6 separate regions of the Homo sapiens genome follow, and regions 1, 2, 3, 4 and 6 are each linked to region 5. The links are contacts of gene promoters, found by promoter capture Hi-C in blood cells and fetal thymus (Javierre and others, 2016). All regions are on one chromosome and are shown on one strand. The core of a region is centred on a gene start or on the middle of the fragment in contact, and the rest is flanking DNA. Distances in the headings are between cores, read along the strand shown. Region 1 has its middle 47 kb from the start of NCK2. Region 2 has its middle 25 kb from the start of NCK2. Region 3 has its middle 63 kb from the start of NCK2. Region 4 overlaps NCK2 (NCK adaptor protein 2). Region 5 holds the start of ECRG4 (ECRG4 augurin precursor). Region 6 overlaps NCK2 (NCK adaptor protein 2).

What was found. Contacts are between HindIII fragments. The CHiCAGO score rates a contact against its expected background, and 5 or more counts as called.
Region 1: a contact is called between a fragment that was not itself captured here and the fragment with the promoter of ECRG4 in region 5, in 5 of 17 cell types (naive CD8 T cells, non-activated CD4 T cells, activated CD4 T cells and 2 more). The highest score is 6.0, in naive CD8 T cells.
Region 2: a contact is called between a fragment that was not itself captured here and the fragment with the promoter of ECRG4 in region 5, in 7 of 17 cell types (non-activated CD4 T cells, naive CD4 T cells, total CD8 T cells and 4 more). The highest score is 9.8, in non-activated CD4 T cells.
Region 3: a contact is called between a fragment that was not itself captured here and the fragment with the promoter of ECRG4 in region 5, in 5 of 17 cell types (naive CD8 T cells, naive CD4 T cells, activated CD4 T cells and 2 more). The highest score is 6.9, in naive CD8 T cells.
Region 4: a fragment that was not itself captured here is called in contact with the fragment with the promoter of ECRG4 in region 5 in 11 of 17 cell types (non-activated CD4 T cells, naive CD4 T cells, activated CD4 T cells and 8 more); the score reaches 20.4 in non-activated CD4 T cells.
Region 6: a fragment that was not itself captured here is called in contact with the fragment with the promoter of ECRG4 in region 5 in 7 of 17 cell types (non-activated CD4 T cells, naive CD4 T cells, total CD8 T cells and 4 more); the score reaches 11.8 in non-activated CD4 T cells.

The regions. Positions count from the first base shown.
Region 1 is chr2:105,696,644-105,699,343 of GRCh38, reverse strand. No RefSeq gene overlaps it. Among named protein-coding and RNA genes, the nearest start is that of NCK2, 47 kb to the left of the region's middle. RefSeq lists a silencer at 337-516. The HindIII fragment of the contact is 2,357 bases long and covers 134-2,490 here.
Region 2 is chr2:105,718,987-105,721,686 of GRCh38, reverse strand. No RefSeq gene overlaps it. Among named protein-coding and RNA genes, the nearest start is that of NCK2, 25 kb to the left of the region's middle. The HindIII fragment of the contact is 6,677 bases long and covers 1-2,700 here.
Region 3 is chr2:105,680,422-105,683,121 of GRCh38, reverse strand. No RefSeq gene overlaps it. Among named protein-coding and RNA genes, the nearest start is that of NCK2, 63 kb to the left of the region's middle. The HindIII fragment of the contact is 1,522 bases long and covers 606-2,127 here.
Region 4 is chr2:105,759,241-105,761,940 of GRCh38, reverse strand. The region is part of intron 1 of NCK2 (NCK adaptor protein 2); the gene reads right to left. Among named protein-coding and RNA genes, the nearest start is that of NCK2, 16 kb to the right of the region's middle. RefSeq lists an enhancer at 810-889. The HindIII fragment of the contact is 3,292 bases long and covers 1-2,700 here.
Region 5 is chr2:106,064,392-106,067,091 of GRCh38, reverse strand. ECRG4 (ECRG4 augurin precursor) reads right to left here and starts at 1,404. Exons shown (of 4, transcript NM_032411.3): 1 at 1,249-1,404. The coding sequence starts at 1,327. The HindIII fragment of the contact is 9,592 bases long and covers 481-2,700 here.
Region 6 is chr2:105,802,655-105,805,354 of GRCh38, reverse strand. The region is part of intron 1 of NCK2 (NCK adaptor protein 2); the gene reads right to left. Among named protein-coding and RNA genes, the nearest start is that of NCK2, 59 kb to the right of the region's middle. RefSeq lists enhancers at 1,947-1,996, 2,350-2,639. The HindIII fragment of the contact is 379 bases long and covers 1,177-1,555 here.

The sequences.
Region 1 (2,700 bases), core at 63-2,562, 370 kb after region 5:
TGTGTGAAAAAGCTGCCTGGGTCACCAACTCTCATATAAAGTAAAGAGGAAAAAAAATCCCACAGCCACTGGTCTTCAAAGGACAGACATGTGGACCTGGTTGGGATGGGGTTGAGGGCAGACTTAAAAAGCTTCATGCAAAGGCTCATCTGAGATGGGCTTTGAAGGTGGGACTGCATGACATGCTGATGGGCAGGACAGATGGATGTATTCCACAGAGGAGGCAAATCATGTGCTAATGCAAAGTGGCAGGGAACCTGATCTATAGGACAGTGGCCCTCAGTCGTGGCTGTATATGGGAATCACCTGGAGTGCTTTAAACAAGCCATGCCTGTGCTGGGGGCTTCCCCTGCCCAGCCAGATCCTTGCCATTGGCACGGGCTCTGCTGGTGCACAGTCATGCAGTTCTTCCCCACTCCAGGTCCACTGAGTCAGAATCTCAGAGGCTGGGGTTGAGACAGTGATATTTAATTTTTTTTCAAGTTATTCTATTCTGCAGTCAGAGTTGAAAGACTTATGACTTTTGGTACAGCGGGTAGAAAAGTGTAACTGAGGTTCAGGCTACGAGTTAGGAAGATCAGAGAGCAGAATGGAGAAGTGGATTGGGTTCATTTACCTGGGGGCATTTATCCTCATTTTGTTCTAGAAGGAAAAGTCAGGTCAAGAGACTGGTGATTCAGAGGTTGTGGTCAGCATTAAGGGACTCAAGAGATAATAAGGCATCGGGACAGTGTCAATAGGGAGCAGCCCCTCACCCCTAGATCTGGGGAAGGAAGGGGCAGAACCCTGGAGGAGGGGCCAGCCAGCAGGGCTGTGCTCTTGAGGGGATCCAGTCACTGCTCAGTAGCACTGAGCAGGGAAGTTGTGGGCAAGACAAACGCCACCTCTTTCTCTTCTTGTCCATCAATCTCTTGTTGCTTCTTCCAGTTGGTTGAGCCCAACCAGAAGCCACAGGGGAGAAAGCCCAGGCAATTCTGCCCTCAGAGATCAGCCTCCTAGAGCCCTGGGATGAGTATGGGGTGGGGTGGAGGGAGGCAAATGGATTATAACCAGCACAACACTAAAGGCACGGTTGGAAGTTTTGCCTAAATTCAATAGGCAATGGTAAACCGCTGGAGGCTTTTGAGTGGGATTGTGATTAGAGCCATGCTTTTAACATGTTTAAACTGTCATGATATTAAAATTAATGTAAGTGAGGGAAAATATTGGTATGTAGGTTGGTTAAGGCCAGGAGGAAGCAGGAGATTTCCTGCATGCACGCCAGCCTTGGCGCTGCTCTGCCAGGTCAGAGGCTCTCCCCAGGGCTGATAATGATGGCTGGGAGTGTGGGCGATCTGCTGGCAGCTGCCGTGACCTTGGCCTGCCTGTGCAGTTTGAGCTTGCTGCAGATACTCTATTCTGAAGAACAAAGCCCTGTCTGTTAATTATTCTTCCAGTCGCTAAGGGAATTAACCAAGGTTTATGGGATTGATTCAACTCTCATCAACATGAAAGCACTAGGAAAATGTTGGCGAACACACAGGGGCATGTCGATTCTGGATTCCTGCGTGGGACTCAGGAATGGATGGTTCCTTAAGGGATGTGTGGGAGGGGGGTCTTTTCCAACTGAAGCCACCCTGGGAAAATGCAGTGTTGGGAGGAGAATTCTGGTCCAGCAATGTGTCTCTCCACTTTTGAATGAGAAAAACTCCTCTGTAGGCTTTTCAGTAATGAGCATCTATGAATTGGGGAATCAGATTATCAGAACTGAGTGCCTGCGGTTGGGGATCCAATCAAGGCATCTTCTTTTGCCTGAAATGGGCTGGTGAAGTCTATTCATAAAGGAAGAGCTAACATGTAGAAGAGAGGGAAGAACTCCCAATGCTCTTCTTGGAGTAAGAACCAAACTAAAAGGGAATATTATACAGATCCTTGTTTTCGATCAACATGTGCAAAAACTCCAACACTCAAAGTTGCCCAGCAAAGGAAAGGGCTGTCTTATGAAATGGTGAACTCCTCATCTTTTTAAGGACCCAAGCAGATGTCTGGCAGCTACTTTTATGACTGATATTTTGGAAGGCATTCCTGCAAGGGCACTAGAGCAATGACCAGGTTAGGTGACCCTCTGTTAGGGACTGAATTGTGTTCCCTTTCCCATGCCAAATTCATATGTTGAAGCCCTGGGAACTCCTAGTAACTTAGAATGTAAACTTGTTTGAATTAAGGTCTTTAAAGAGGTAATTAAGTTACAACATGGTCTTTTGCATGGGTCCTAATCCAATGTGACTGGTGTCCTTATAAGAAGAGGAGATTAAGACACAGAGGGAAGACCATGTGAAGGCACAGGGGGCCTCAGAAGAAAACAACTCTGTCACCATCTTGGTCTCGGACTTCTAGCTTCCAGAACTGTGAGACAATAAACTTCTGTTGCTTAAGCCACCCAGTCTGGCTAAGACCCCCTCAATCTTTCTAAGAGTCTATTCTTTGACTTGAAAAATATTTAGAAAAGCTTATTCACTGGAGTTCGGAATAACACTACAGGATAACAAGTCCCGGTGTTTAATAAAACAGCAGGAGCCTCAGGCTGCAGTTGCATATTACTTAGCTTCCTAAATAATTGAAATAGGAGGGTATCACCGAGAAGAAATCACTTACAGGATATATTCATTCATTAAGCAATATCTGTTGTGGGCTTTCTGTGTGCCAATAACATCAATTCAA
Region 2 (2,700 bases), core at 192-2,691, 350 kb after region 5:
AAACCTTACACCAAAACTTTTGAAAATAAAGAAAGTTAATCCCAGATCATTTCATGGCCACAATCCAGCCACTACTATCTTTTTGGCATATGTCTGTCTTTCTTTCTTTCTTTCTTTCTTTCTTTCTTTCTTTCTTTCTTTCTTTTTTTTGACAGAGTTTTGCTCTTGTCGCCTCAGCTGGAGTGCAATGACACACTCTTGGCTCACTGCAACCTCCGCCTCCTGGGTTTAAGTGATTCTCCTGCCTCAGCTTCCCGAGTAGCTGGGACTGTAGGCATGTGTCACTATGCTCGACTAATTTTTTTGCATTTTTAGTAGAGACAGGGTTTCACCAGTTTCACCAGGCTGGTCTTGAACTCCTGACCTCAGGTGATCCGCCCACCTCAGCCTCCCAAAGGGCTGGGATTACAGGCATATTCATTTTGAGTCTTTTTTTCCAAACACATGTTACATTCATGGTCCATTATGTGCCATGGTCTGTGTCCGTGTAAAATTCCTGTATTAAAACCTAATCTCTAAAGTGATGGTGTTAGGAAGTGGGCCTTTGTGAAGTGATTAGGTCATGAGGGTAGAACCCTCATGAATGGGATCAGTGCCCTTATAAAAGAAGCTCAGGAGTGCATTTCTTCTCCCTTCTGCCCTGTGAGCACACAGGGAGAAGGCACCATCTATGAGGAATGGGCCCCCACCAGGCACCGAATTTGTCAGTGGCTCCAGAACTGTGAGATATAAATGTTTATTGTTTTAAGCCAGCTAGTTTATGGCATTTCTGTTACAGCAGCCCCAAAGGACTAAGACATTGCACTTATCTTGCATAGAATTTCTCACCACTTGTTTCACTCAACAATATTTTCTCATGTTACATTCTAATTGTTATAATGACTGCTTGCTGTGTACAATGTGCCACTAAGTGACTATACCAGAGTCCAGCTGCTGGACATTTTTTCTAACGTTTTCACGTAACTTCTTTTGTAATCATCTTCCTGTATATATGTTTTTCCATGTTTGGGAACATTCCCTTATACTAGAATTTTATAAGTGGGATTATTGGACCACGGAAATGATTTTTTAAAAGCTATACACATTTCCAAGTTCCTTTAAAAAACACACAACACAGTCACAATGAATGTACAGATTTCACTACACTGTGATTAGAAGTGGGTAATGTATACGTAATGTTAATTCAATTTTAAAAGTAAAGAATGTTGCCACCTTGTTGTTTTTATTTACCTAACAGTGATTACAAGTGAGAATCACTGAGTTTTTCCCCATATTTTGATGATTAGTTCTATTTTCCTGCCCATGAATGATCTGCTTGTATTCTTTGGGATTTAGCTGTCAAGTTTACAATGTTCTTCTGCTCTCATATGACCTCTTTTTATTTAATAAATATGTTGAGCAATTTTCTATCATTCATCCCAGTCTATCCTTTGCTTTCTTGCCTTGGGTTTTCCATGGAAAGTGCTAAATATTTATATGGTCAAATTTTTCTTTTATGATTTACTGTGTTACTTCTGTGCTGAGGAAACTACAGTTGACTCTTGAATGACACAGGTTTCAGCTACACGGGTCCACTTATATCTGGATATTTTTCAATCAAACCCAGATAGAAAATACAATATCCACGGAAATGTGAAACCCACATAATGCAGAGGGAGGGCCGACCCTTCCTTAAGGTAGGTTCCACGGGACCATCTGTGGAACCTGAGAGTGCACTGAGTTTGTTATATTCAGGGAAGCTGGAACCAACCCCTTGAGTATACGTAGGGACGACTGTATTCCTCCCTCAGGATTTTATTTTATTTTATTTTTGAAACAGAGTTTCACTCTTGCTGCCCAGGCTGGAATACAGTGGTGCGAGCTCGGCTCACTGTGAAGTCCGCCTCCCGGGTTCAAGCAATTCTCCTGCCTCAGCCTCCTGAGTAGCTGGGATTACAGGCACCCGCCACCACTTCCAGCTAATTTTTGTATTTTTAGTAGAGATGGGGTTCCCCTATATTGGCCAGGCTGGTCTCAAACTTCCGACCTCAGGTGATCCACCCACCTTGGCCTCCCAAAGTGCTAGGATTACAGGCATGAGCCACTGTGCCCGGCCAGGATTTTAATAAGTATTATATTCATTTAATGTAAGGTTCTGTGTTTAGCTGCTTAAATTTTCTAAAATTTCAAATGAAATCTAAAGTAGGTGAAGACCCCCTTCTTCCTCCTCCGACTCTCCTCTTAGCCCCTCTGTCACCCTGTCTCATGGGCCTCCACTGTGCCATATCAGTTTTACATCTGCCCAACTTCATCCACTTATTTGAGCAGAGATAGGAACTATTCTGCAGCAGGTGGAGGAAGAGAAGTGCTCAGGGTGACCACCCCTTCCTTTTTTTGTGCTGTCTTAAAGAGCTGATCACGTTGGCGGTGTTATGCTAGAAACCACGGGAATACTCTGGCACAGTCATCTATAGGCTCTGGAGCAGCGCTGGGCACCCTTCTAATTTAGGCAGTGGGAGGGGCAGGAAGTTACAGGAGCTGTGATGTATCCAGCCTGGAAATTATCTTCTGAGTTGCCATTGTGAAAATTATTCAGTCCACGTGGGGGTCACCCTGCTGGCCCACAGCTCTCGTGTCTGAGCTGCTTCCTCTGCTTGAGGGAGGGACACAGTCAGAAAGCCTTCCTGAGGACATCCAGGTTCCCCAGACCTTGTCCTTCAG
Region 3 (2,700 bases), core at 117-2,616, 380 kb after region 5:
TCATCAGTTTCTTTAATGCTTTGGGGCACAGTTTCATGATTTTGAAATCTAAAGAGTTTGGAAACTAAGAGTCTGCAGGAAAAACCTCACAGGATCAAGTGAGAGGCTATTTATTCTCTTTATTTATCCCAGTGACTACAAATACCATATGTTTCAATCCCCATCTATTATGTGTGGCTGAAGTGCTGCCCCACACTCTGCTGCGGGGCTTGGGTAACATACAATATATGCATCCTGTTTCCACTCTAAAATTGGAAAAATTCTGCATTCTGAAACCTATCTTGCCCGTAAGAGTTTCCAAAAAGGGAGTGTGGGTCTGTAATATCTACCTCATAGGGTTGGAAAAGGATGAAGTAAGTGAATACAGATGGTCGCTGACATGATTTTTCAACTTTGTGATGGTGCGGCAGTGATATGCACTCAGTAGAAACTTTGCAATTTGATCTTTTCCTGGGCTACTCTGTGCAATACAATGCCCTCTCACACTGCTGAGCAGCGGCAGCAAGCCACAGCTCCCAGCCAGCCAAGCGATCACAAGGGCAAACCACCGATGCTGTGCTCTACAGTGTACTGTATTCAATAAGGTACATGAGATATGCAAAGCTTTATTACAAAATAGGCTTTGTGTTAGATGATTTGGCCTGACTGTAGGTTAACGTAAGTTTTCTGAGCATGTTTAAGGTAGGCTAGGCTAAGCTATGATGTTCAGTAGGTTAGGTGTATGACATGCATTTTTGACTTACAATATTTTCAATTTATGATGGGTTCATCAGGATGTAATGCCGTGGACAGTACACAGCACCATTCCTGGCAGCCAGTGAGCACTCATGGATGTTAGCCGGGTTATCTCTTTTTCATTCTTCACAGCTCTCAGAGCTCTGTGTAGGTTTGGAAAAGCCCAGGGCCCAGCCCACTCCCCAGAGACAATCACTTTGACCTGTTCTGGTTGTGGTTACCCATGTGGCCACCAACATACCTCTCAATCATAGACTTTGACATAGATTTCTTTGTTTATCAACCCACAAGAATTTTGCTCACCTACACCACAACCTGTTTCCCTCCACTCTCTCCGCAGAGGGTTCTCCCTCTATTCCTTTTTTCTGTTGGTAGCCTTTGCATGTCAACAAACATTCTTCAATCTCAATTTCTTGTCCCATCCACCACAGATGTGACCTCCTGTCTCCCAAGAAGACATGGTATTCGGGGGCCACTACACCCATATTCCCTTTGTCTCTTCTCTAGTTCTTTACCTTCCCCAAAACCGGAGTTTTTAAAAATAGCTAAGACTAAATGTGGGCTTTGTATGGCTAATGTTTTACCTCTATACACTTTTTTTTTTTTTTGAGACAGAGTCTTGCTCTATTGCCCAGGGTGGAGTGCAGTGGGTGTTCTTGGCTTACCGCAACCTCCACCTTCCAGGTTCAAATGATTCTGGTGCCTCAACCTCCCGAGTAGCTGGGATTACAGGCATGCACCACCACGCCAAGCTAATTATTTTTCCCTTTGGCATTTGTAGTAAAGACTGGATTTCATCATGTTGGCCAGGCTTGTCTGTAACTCCTGGCCTCAAGTGATCTGCCCGCTTTGGCCTTCCAAAGTACTGGGATTGCAGGCATGAGCCACTGCTCCCGGCCCCTACAAACTTTTCATTGCTGCTTCTATTATATCTTGTTACTTGTCATTGGTCTATTCAGGTTTTGTATTTCTTCATGTTTCAATCTTGATAGGGTGTATGTTTATAGGAATTTATCAGTTTCTTCTAGGTTTTCCAATTTAGTGGTGTAGAGTTGCTCTGGAAGGCTGTAGGGACAGTGGTGTTCTGCCATTGCAGATAATCCTAGTAGCAGTGACACATTCCAAAGGCTGCTTTGGCCTTATTCGTGAGGCTACTAATGAGAAAGAACCATGGGGTTTTTGAAGTCCAAGTGACCTCTATCATCTTGTAGATGAGAAAACTGAAATTCAAAGCAATCAATGGTTTTGACTCAAATCATGTCACCAAAATCTTTGGTAAGAGCTGAACTGGGACTGGACCCCAGGTCTCCTAAAGCCCAGTGGATGTTCTCAACCCCAGCCTCAATTTCCCCTGCCCATTAGCAAGAACAGGGCTCACTGAGCCAGTAAGCTTCTCACGCATTTTCTAATGCATATCCTAAAGCAACTGTCCTCCAAAATACAACCACAATGGGGCCACTTTTGGTGACCTCTCCAGCTACACCCTGCTCCAAGCACCATCCTGCATTAGCTTCCTAAGGGGTCTCCTGGCTTTCACCCTTCTTCCCTATAGTACAGTCTCAGTGCAGGTACTCTCTTTAAATCCTGCAGTGGAGCAGGCCACTGCTCTGCTCAAGTCTTGCAATGACGTCTCTTCACTCCAAGTCTTGCAATGACGTCTCTTCACTCAAAGTACGAAGGCAGCGTCCTCCTCAGGCCCTACAAGACCCTACTAATCAGGTCTCCTGTTTCCACTTGACCCATTTCCTAAGCTCTCATCTCTGCTCCCCATACTCCGCCCACACTGATGTCCTTGCTTGCCCAGAACTGACCAGGCAGCTCCACCCAGAGTCTCTGCACTTGCTCTTCCCGGTCTTGGCAATGCTCTGCCCTTTGATACCTGCAAGTCCCTCACTGCCTGCAGGATTCTGCTCCAGGGTTGCCTTCCTGCTAGGACTTTCCTGGCCATCTTATTTAAAATTGCAC
Region 4 (2,700 bases), core at 176-2,675, 310 kb after region 5:
CAGAGGCAGAGATTGAAAAGAAAATAATGTTCAAAAGGGTCAGCGCACATGTCTGTATTCAGTCTTTTTTGGTCTCACTGTCATATAGGCTGGAGTACAGGGGCCTGATCACGGCTCACTGCAGCCTGGACCTCCCAGGCTCAAGTGATCCTCCTGCCTCAGTCTCCTAAGTAGCTGGGACTACAGGCACTTGCCACCATACCCAGCTCATTTTTTTGTATTTCTTGTAGAGACAGGGTTTCGCCATGTTGCCCAGGCTGGTCTTGAACTCCTGGGCTCAAGCAATCCTCCCACCTGAGCCTCCCAAAGTGCTGGGATTACAGGCATGAGCCACTATGAGCCACTCTGCCTGGCCCAGTCATTTTTTAATAAACAAAATGCATTATTATAAATTATATCTATGTGAATGAATACAACAGAGTCTCTCTCATCTGTGTATAATGGTTTGGGAAGGGTGGAGCAGGAAGTAGTGTCCCCCCACCTGGCCTTCCACCCAAGCCTGGAATCGTCCCATCACTAGGAGGGAGAAGGCAGTGACCAGAAAGAGAAACAGGCTAATGGCCTTAATTCTGACTTTTTCTGTACCCAAGAGAAAGGTGAGCCACTCTTCTCCCTCCCAAAAAAAGATTCTCTGGAAGTCAGTCAGCCAGGAGTTAAAATGACCACTTCAAGACCCTCCCCACGCCAGCTTCTGAGCCAACGCCTGCCCCGTCCATACCACCGCTCCCATACACACCCAAACCTCCCAGCACCCGGGTAGGGCACAACCCTGCTGCCCAGAAGAGGCCCAGTAGGGTGGGCGGGCAGGCACACCAGCATGGCCTCACAGCAGACTCTGGCCCCCATCTATGAGAGGAGAATGCCTTCCTCAGACACTGGGTCGGGACCACTTCCTGAGCCCAGTCACAGACCAGGGCTTCCTCAGGCGGAAGCAGGATGAGGGCCACCCAGATCCCAATCCCAAAGAAACTTCTTCAGGCCACTGCCCTCCCACTTCAACCAGGGAATGTGCCCAAGAGCTAGGGGTGTCCCAAAGCGCAAGGCATGACACATGTAGAAACTATGAAGATTTTTCGGTGATTTTTTATTTGCTCAAACCTGAACACAGTCCACGTGGGGTCTCGGTGTCTCTGCCTCTCTCTCTCTCTCACATGTGACAAAACCATTTTCAGAGAAGCCTGGCATCTAGGGACCTCCCTACTCTGGCCCTGACTGGCCTTTCCACAATAGGGTTCTCAGCTGTAACTGGTTTCTCCCTTCACTGGAACTCTGGGCCCACCAAAAGAAGGATGAAGTTATCCAGAAAGCAAAGACCCTTGGTTGATACAAAGGGAGCCTCAGATGGAGAGATCCAAGAGGTGGTCAAAACTGTGGGAGAAGTGGTTACACGGGGAGCCTTAGAGCTAGGTGCCACCAGCAGGGAAGAGGTGTGAACGGCAAGGATGGAGGTGAGGGCCTGACTCCTGGCCGGCACACCTGGGGTTCAAGTGCTAATCCACAGCAGAGGCTCTCAACTTTGAATATGCATCAGAATCACCTGGGGAACTCGTGCAACAGGAAGAATTCCAGACCAACCTATCCCACGCGGGAAGTCAGGCAGTTCCCCGGAATTTGCATTTCTCCACAGCCCAGGACCACATTCTGGAAACCCCATGCTGGGGCACCATCCTATCCTATCACCTCCTCCGCAACAGTGCCAAGGGGCTGTCTGTGCCACAGTGCCTTCTATCCCCACTGAAAATCTTGGTCCCTTTTGGGAGAATAGATAAATCTGTCAGATAGAATTCTAAATAACTAATGTAAATACAACCCCTACAGGAGGTACAGCTGAACTCCCTCTTCCTTAAATGACCTCCTTCCAAAGACTGCAGCAGTATGGAAAGAAGGGAAAAGAGTCACTTGACAGTGGAGTCACTTGACAGTGGAGTCCCCTGACAAACACTACCTGGGCCAGGTGATCAAGATCAACATCAACCATCATAAGCCACGCTGATCACATGGACCCTTGATACAAAATGGCACATTACCTCGGTGGCCTTCCTCCCCAAACCGGTAACTCTACACTAATCATGAAAAAACATCTGACAACTCTCAACTGAGGGACAGTCTACAAAACACCTGAAAAGCAGTTTTGCTCCTCAAAGCTGTCAAGCCATTAAAAACAAGGCGAGTCTAAGAAACTGTCCCAGATCAGAGGCGCTACGGAGACTAAAGGAAACGTGCCCTGGATGGGATCCTGGGACAGAAAAAGGATGTCAGGGCAAATAAACTATGGACTTAACAATAATGTACCAATACTGGTTCATTAGATGTAACCAATGTACTATAGTAACGTAAGATGTGAATCACAGGGGAAAGTAGACACAGTTTATATCAGAATTCTCTGTATTATCTTTGAAACTTTTTCTGTAAATTTAAAATCTATTCTAAAATTAAGCGCTTACTTAAAAATATATACCATATGTTTTATTATATAAAAGCCTGTATGCATAGGGTAACATGGTTGACTTTCAACAATAACAAATTACACTTTGGAAACGTTAAAACACTGTGCTCAACAAAAGGAAATAAATACCCCTATTGATCAGCTTAATACACGAACGTGAGGGTATTACATGGCTGAAATGCAATACAATTTTCTGCTTTCCCCAGAGAACGTACTATGTGTACTTGAATACGTAAAACGATATACTGCATGTG
Region 5 (2,700 bases), core at 155-2,654:
GACCTCAGGTGATCTGCCCCCCCCCCCCCCCCGGCCTCCCAAAGTGCTGGGATTACAGGTATGAACCACCAAGGCCGGCCCAGATGTGCTTCTTAAAGTGGCAAGAACAAAGAGTGGGAGGCAGGTAAACCATACAACGGGAAATGACTGATTAGCTTCGCCTGTGATTCTAAGGTGGAACAATAATCCTCCCCACCTGAACAGACCTCACCACGCCTCCTGCTGTTTTAGCAACCCCGGGGCTCCATCCCAGGGCTCCTACTGAATGTCCCCTGCCTCTTCTCACCTCGAGTTCAGTTTCCATACCTGTTTCGAATGAGCAAAATACAGAAACTGAGCAACCGAGTGAGCCTCCCTTTTACATTAGGCAGTGCCCAGCTGCTTTGCAGTGGGACAGCGCCAGTCTCAGGCTCTTGGGCAAGTCACTTCATACACCAGTAACTCTGAGGTAACAATCCCTGCCTCCCCTAGTTGTAAGCTTCAAAGGCAGTCATGTGTCCTTGAGGCCACTTGTGAACCATAAATGTTCCTCCTACCCAGTGAAGGTGGTAACTCAGGACAAACCACGGCTTCAGATTATGGTTCCTAAAGTGGGGCCTGTGGAGCCCAGCGATCAGATATCGGAGCACCCATCATTCTGGGTGTGCGTGTGAATGCACGTTTTACAGAGAGCGAGCAGAGAATTTCAGAGTTTTCAACCGATTCGCTGGGAGCTCCACGAAGCAGGAAAGATTAAGCATTACTCCTTTAAGAGCCTTTCCCCTCTCTGGGGTGTGAGGCCTGTGCCCAGCTTTGCAAATTGCAACTTGACCCAGCTGGGAAGCGCAAGTCAACTTGGTTGCTAAGCGACTGCCTGGAAGGGAATGGCGGTGATGGTGCCATTTGCCTCCTCTGGGTTACCAGCTGCGTAAAGCCCCCACAACCCTTTTGCCCCTTACGTTAAGCCACGAAACACTACTTGCCCACCCTTCGGACGCCTGGCCCTCCTTGCCCAAGGTTGCCCGGGAGATCTGAGACCCTCCCCTTGACCCCGGTACTCTCTCCACCCTCACAAGGGCACCACTTCGCACTTGTGCGAGTGCAAAACCCCAGACCCGGTCCTCTACCACCCCTTGGCCCTGCCTAGGCTAAGGATGGGTCCCTACGCCGCCACCCCATCACCGATCGCTCTCCCCGGGCACCATGGAAGCGCCACATGGGGCCAACCCCTGGTGCCGCTATCAATCAGCCTGGCATCGCCCCGCTCACCTGGGCCCCAGCACAGGAGCAGGAGCAGCGCCAGCCCGGTCAGGGCCAGGACAGCAGGCCGCGCGGGGGAGGCAGCCATGGCGGCGGGGCGCGAGCAGGAGGGCGAGGGGCGCACTTCGAGGTGCTGCGAGGGAGAACCGGGCGCGGGAGAGGGGTGCGAGCGGGCAGGCGCGGCCGCGGGTTATCCCTGCGTCGCTGCCGGGGCGGGACCCAGCGGGTGGGCGCCGCGCCAGAGGGCTGAGGGCCAAGCGGCTGCGCCCAGCGCACGGGCGAGTACCACCGAGGTCCTCTCTCCCGCCCCGGCCCCAAGGGGAACGCAGCCCCTGGGCTCCAAGGCCAAGGATGCTTGGCCACGGAGAACCGCCGGCGGCGGGGGCCGCGTGGCCAGCGCTGCCCGCAGCGAAAGCGGTTAGGACAAGCTGGGTTCCGGAGACCCAAGGAAGGGCAGAAGGCATCGGGAGAAGGGACGAGGCCCCCTGGCCACTCAGAGGGAGGACTTGCCGGATCCCAGCGCTGGGGTGTCTCCTTGGCTCCCCCACTTCCTCCGCCCGCCCCAGCCGCGCCACTGTTCCCCTTACTCCTCACCCCTTTCTTCCCTATCTCCCTCCCTCCCTGCTTGGGGGCCTTGCTTCTGCCTGGTTTGTAAAGTGGGCTTTGGAATTTCCTTAGTTCAGAGCTGCTCTTAAGGATGCCTTAGGCGGGGCTGTTTTTGAGATAGTTTGAAAGATTCCACAGTCTGGGTTCAGAGCTGCAGTCCGGGAAATCGTCTCACCCAAACTTCTCCAATAGAAAAGCCTTTGAGAAACCAGGAACCTGGTGCCCTGCAGCTGTGAGCAAAACCACTGCTTCCCTTTGCCCGCTCTGTAATCTGGGCACACTTCAGCGAGCGATGTTAAGGTGAGACCCAAGGGAAACGCAGAACTGCATCCCAGTAACTGGCCTGTTCAACTGTAGAGGACACGTGAAAGGAGGCGTAGTGAACAAAAACTAGAACAACTTTATCCCAACGGACTCTGAGCGGGTCACCTAATTATTCTCTCCAGGCCTGGGCTACAAAAGGATGGAGATGTGAGATTACCTTTCCTGTCTTCCCATCTCAGATCTGCCCTGAACTGAGCTGATTACCTCTTTCCTTCACCAAGGTTCTCACTTATTTTCCCCTCCCTGAGACGGAGTTTCACTCTTGTTGCCCAGGCTGGAGTGCAGTGATGGGATCTCAGTCACTGCAACCTCCAACTCCGGGGTTCAAGCGATTCTCCTGCCTCAGCCTCCTGAGTAGCTGGGATTACAAGGCATGTGCCACGAGGCCCAGCTAATTTTGTATTTTTAGTAGAGAAGGGATTTTACCATGTTGGCCAGGCTGGTCTTGAACTCCTGAACTCAAATGATTCACCCGCATCGGCCTCCCAAAGTGTTAGGATTACAGGTGTGAGCCACCACACCGGCCAGTAT
Region 6 (2,700 bases), core at 117-2,616, 260 kb after region 5:
TCCTAAAATGGTCAAGGTATGTTCATCCACATTCTCCTCAAACGCTGGACCCTTTCATAACTCTTTGCCCTCGCGTCTGCTATTTCCTCCCCGTACTGGGAACATCTTTGCACCTCAGCTTCCCAATGCCATCGTGCAATCAAATCCAACTCACCATTCAGGAAGGAACTCAAACGTGCTCTCTTCTAGGAGACCGGCCTCCGTGCCCATAAAAAGCACTATTTTATAATATCAACTGTCATTTACAAAACTGTCCAGATAGGAAGAGCCTCTGGGAAGGGACTGCAACTTTTTCATGTCCTGATACCCATATGGGGAGGCCCATGGCAGGCTCTGGATAAAATGACTCTTCTCCCCCATTTATGGTTCAATAAACTTCCACTTCCTTAGTTCCATCTATAAGATCAGCTGTGACTATCCAGTACCCTGCAGCAGTTAGTGCCATGTTAGGCCCTGATTGAATCCTTGTCCCCCAGTTTGCAATCTAAGACACACTGAATCCCTAACACCACTGTGCCTCTAGGCCAGGCCATGAATATCAACGTGGAGCCTTAAATACAGATAATAACATACCTATGCCAAAACCAAACAATGGTTCTTACATATCATATTTCTTAATTTCAAGGCTATAAGTTTAGTTTTCTTGAGTATTTCATTCAATAAATAAATTTGCAAGCAGTCAATGAAGAGGGACAGAATCAAAGAGTAATTCTAAATTCTAAAGCTCAGGAGCATATATATGACTTCCTATGGCAGCTGCCCAATTAATGCCATCCATAAAGCCATTCAAATACTGTGTCTGGGCTGAAATCCAATTAAGCCATTTCTGTCTGAATATCCCCAAAGAGCCTCCTGCTGAGCTCAAAGTGGAAATCATCATAAATGCCAGATTAGCTGTGTAAGCATTTCCAAAGCCAAAACCAGACAAGAGCATGAAAACCTACATGCCTAGCCTTTTAACTGGGCACAAAGACAGAAAAGACATTCAGTGACCATCTGGCAAAAAGTCAAACCCATTTTCTCGTCCACCAGGTCTTCTCAGATAATCCTCATCCAGTGCAAACATCAAAGAAAAGCGCTGGTCCGTTCATTTACACACATTTTGAAATGATCAACTTCAGCTTCACAATGAAATTTTGTGCAGTGAGGAAACAGGCCCAGAAAACATCTCAAGCTTTCTCTAGACTCAAAATTTTACTCAACCAACCCCTTACAGAGTACACCCTTGAAATTAGTAAATCCTGAGAGTCGCCACTGCCTCTATGTATATAATTTGCCCCGTAAAAAATGGGCAAGCAAAGCCAAAACCTAACTGAGAGGGAGAGGGATGGCAGAGATGCACTCAACGTGTTAATTTACTCCTCTGTCTTGCAATCCATGACTCAGATTCACAACTCACAAGGCACATGGTATCCTCAGCTTTCATGCAACAGCCAGAACCAGGACTGTTTTAACCACATATTCCAGAAACAGAAAGACTCTGGGCTGACTATTCATTCCAAACGGACCCTACCTGAGACCTACTTAATTAGAACATCTGCAGTTTATAAAAGCTTCTAGGTGGTTATGAGGCCCAGCCCCATTCAGAATCACTACTCTAGAGAAAATAAGAGAAACTGAAGAAGAGCCAATTCCAGAAAGCCTTATTCTCTAAACCCTCATAACTGGACCACAAGTGTGAAAGACGACTAACCTGGGTGTGAAGCTGGCAATGTCTCTGCACATGATGCAGGGGCATGAGGACTTGCTTTGAAACTGGATGCTAATGCCAGTTCCGCACTTTCCTAGCTGTAGAAATTGAAGGCTGCTAATTAACCTCAGAAACTAGGTTTCCTTGGAGACAATAGCAGTCACCTTGTTGGTAGAATGAAATCAGTCACACGTATTCAATGAAAATGTATTGCACAACTGCTGTGTGCAAATGCTGTACATACATAAGGCACAGCACAGAAGTGGCCCTTCTTAAGGAGCTCAGCCTAATTAGAGTTCAAAGTCAAATAGGAGACTACATAGCAGTGCCTATTTATGATATCTGCTGCAAGAAAACGTGCCTATAAAAAACAGCAGCTAAACTTTTCTAGGTAACTTCTAAAACACATGTGTGCTATCTAAAATATCTGCCTTAGAATTTAAAAATTTGATGGAGACAAGCAGAATAAATGTTTATATTAACAACTATCTTAGATAAAAACTAATTTGTGATACAGTAGAAAATAAGCCTAACCTTGCTTTCCCAAGACTGACCTTCAAAGCTAGGGGAACTATAATCTCTTCTCTAAGGAAAACCATCAATTTGAAAAATGACAACAAGGTTTGCTAAACCTCACCATCCCAATATTGCTCTCTTCTAGAAAGACTTCAAGTTAATTCATCCAACAAGTATTTACTGAACCCCTGCTAGCACTGTGCTTGGTGCTATACACACAACAGACATCACTGACACCACCTCACCCCCGAGAAAGCAGCAGATGAAACAGACAACTGGGTGGCAAGCGACAAAAAAGGGGAATTCCAGATGATCAGTCATCATCCATGGCCCATGTATGTGACACATGGGGGCAAACAAGGATGTTGCTACCGTTTGAATATCTGACTCCTTCTCATGTTGAAATCTGATCCCCAGTGTTGGAGGTGGGGCTTTAAGGGAGGTGTCTGCATCGCGAGGGCGGATCCCTCATGCATGGTGCCTTCCTCGTGGTG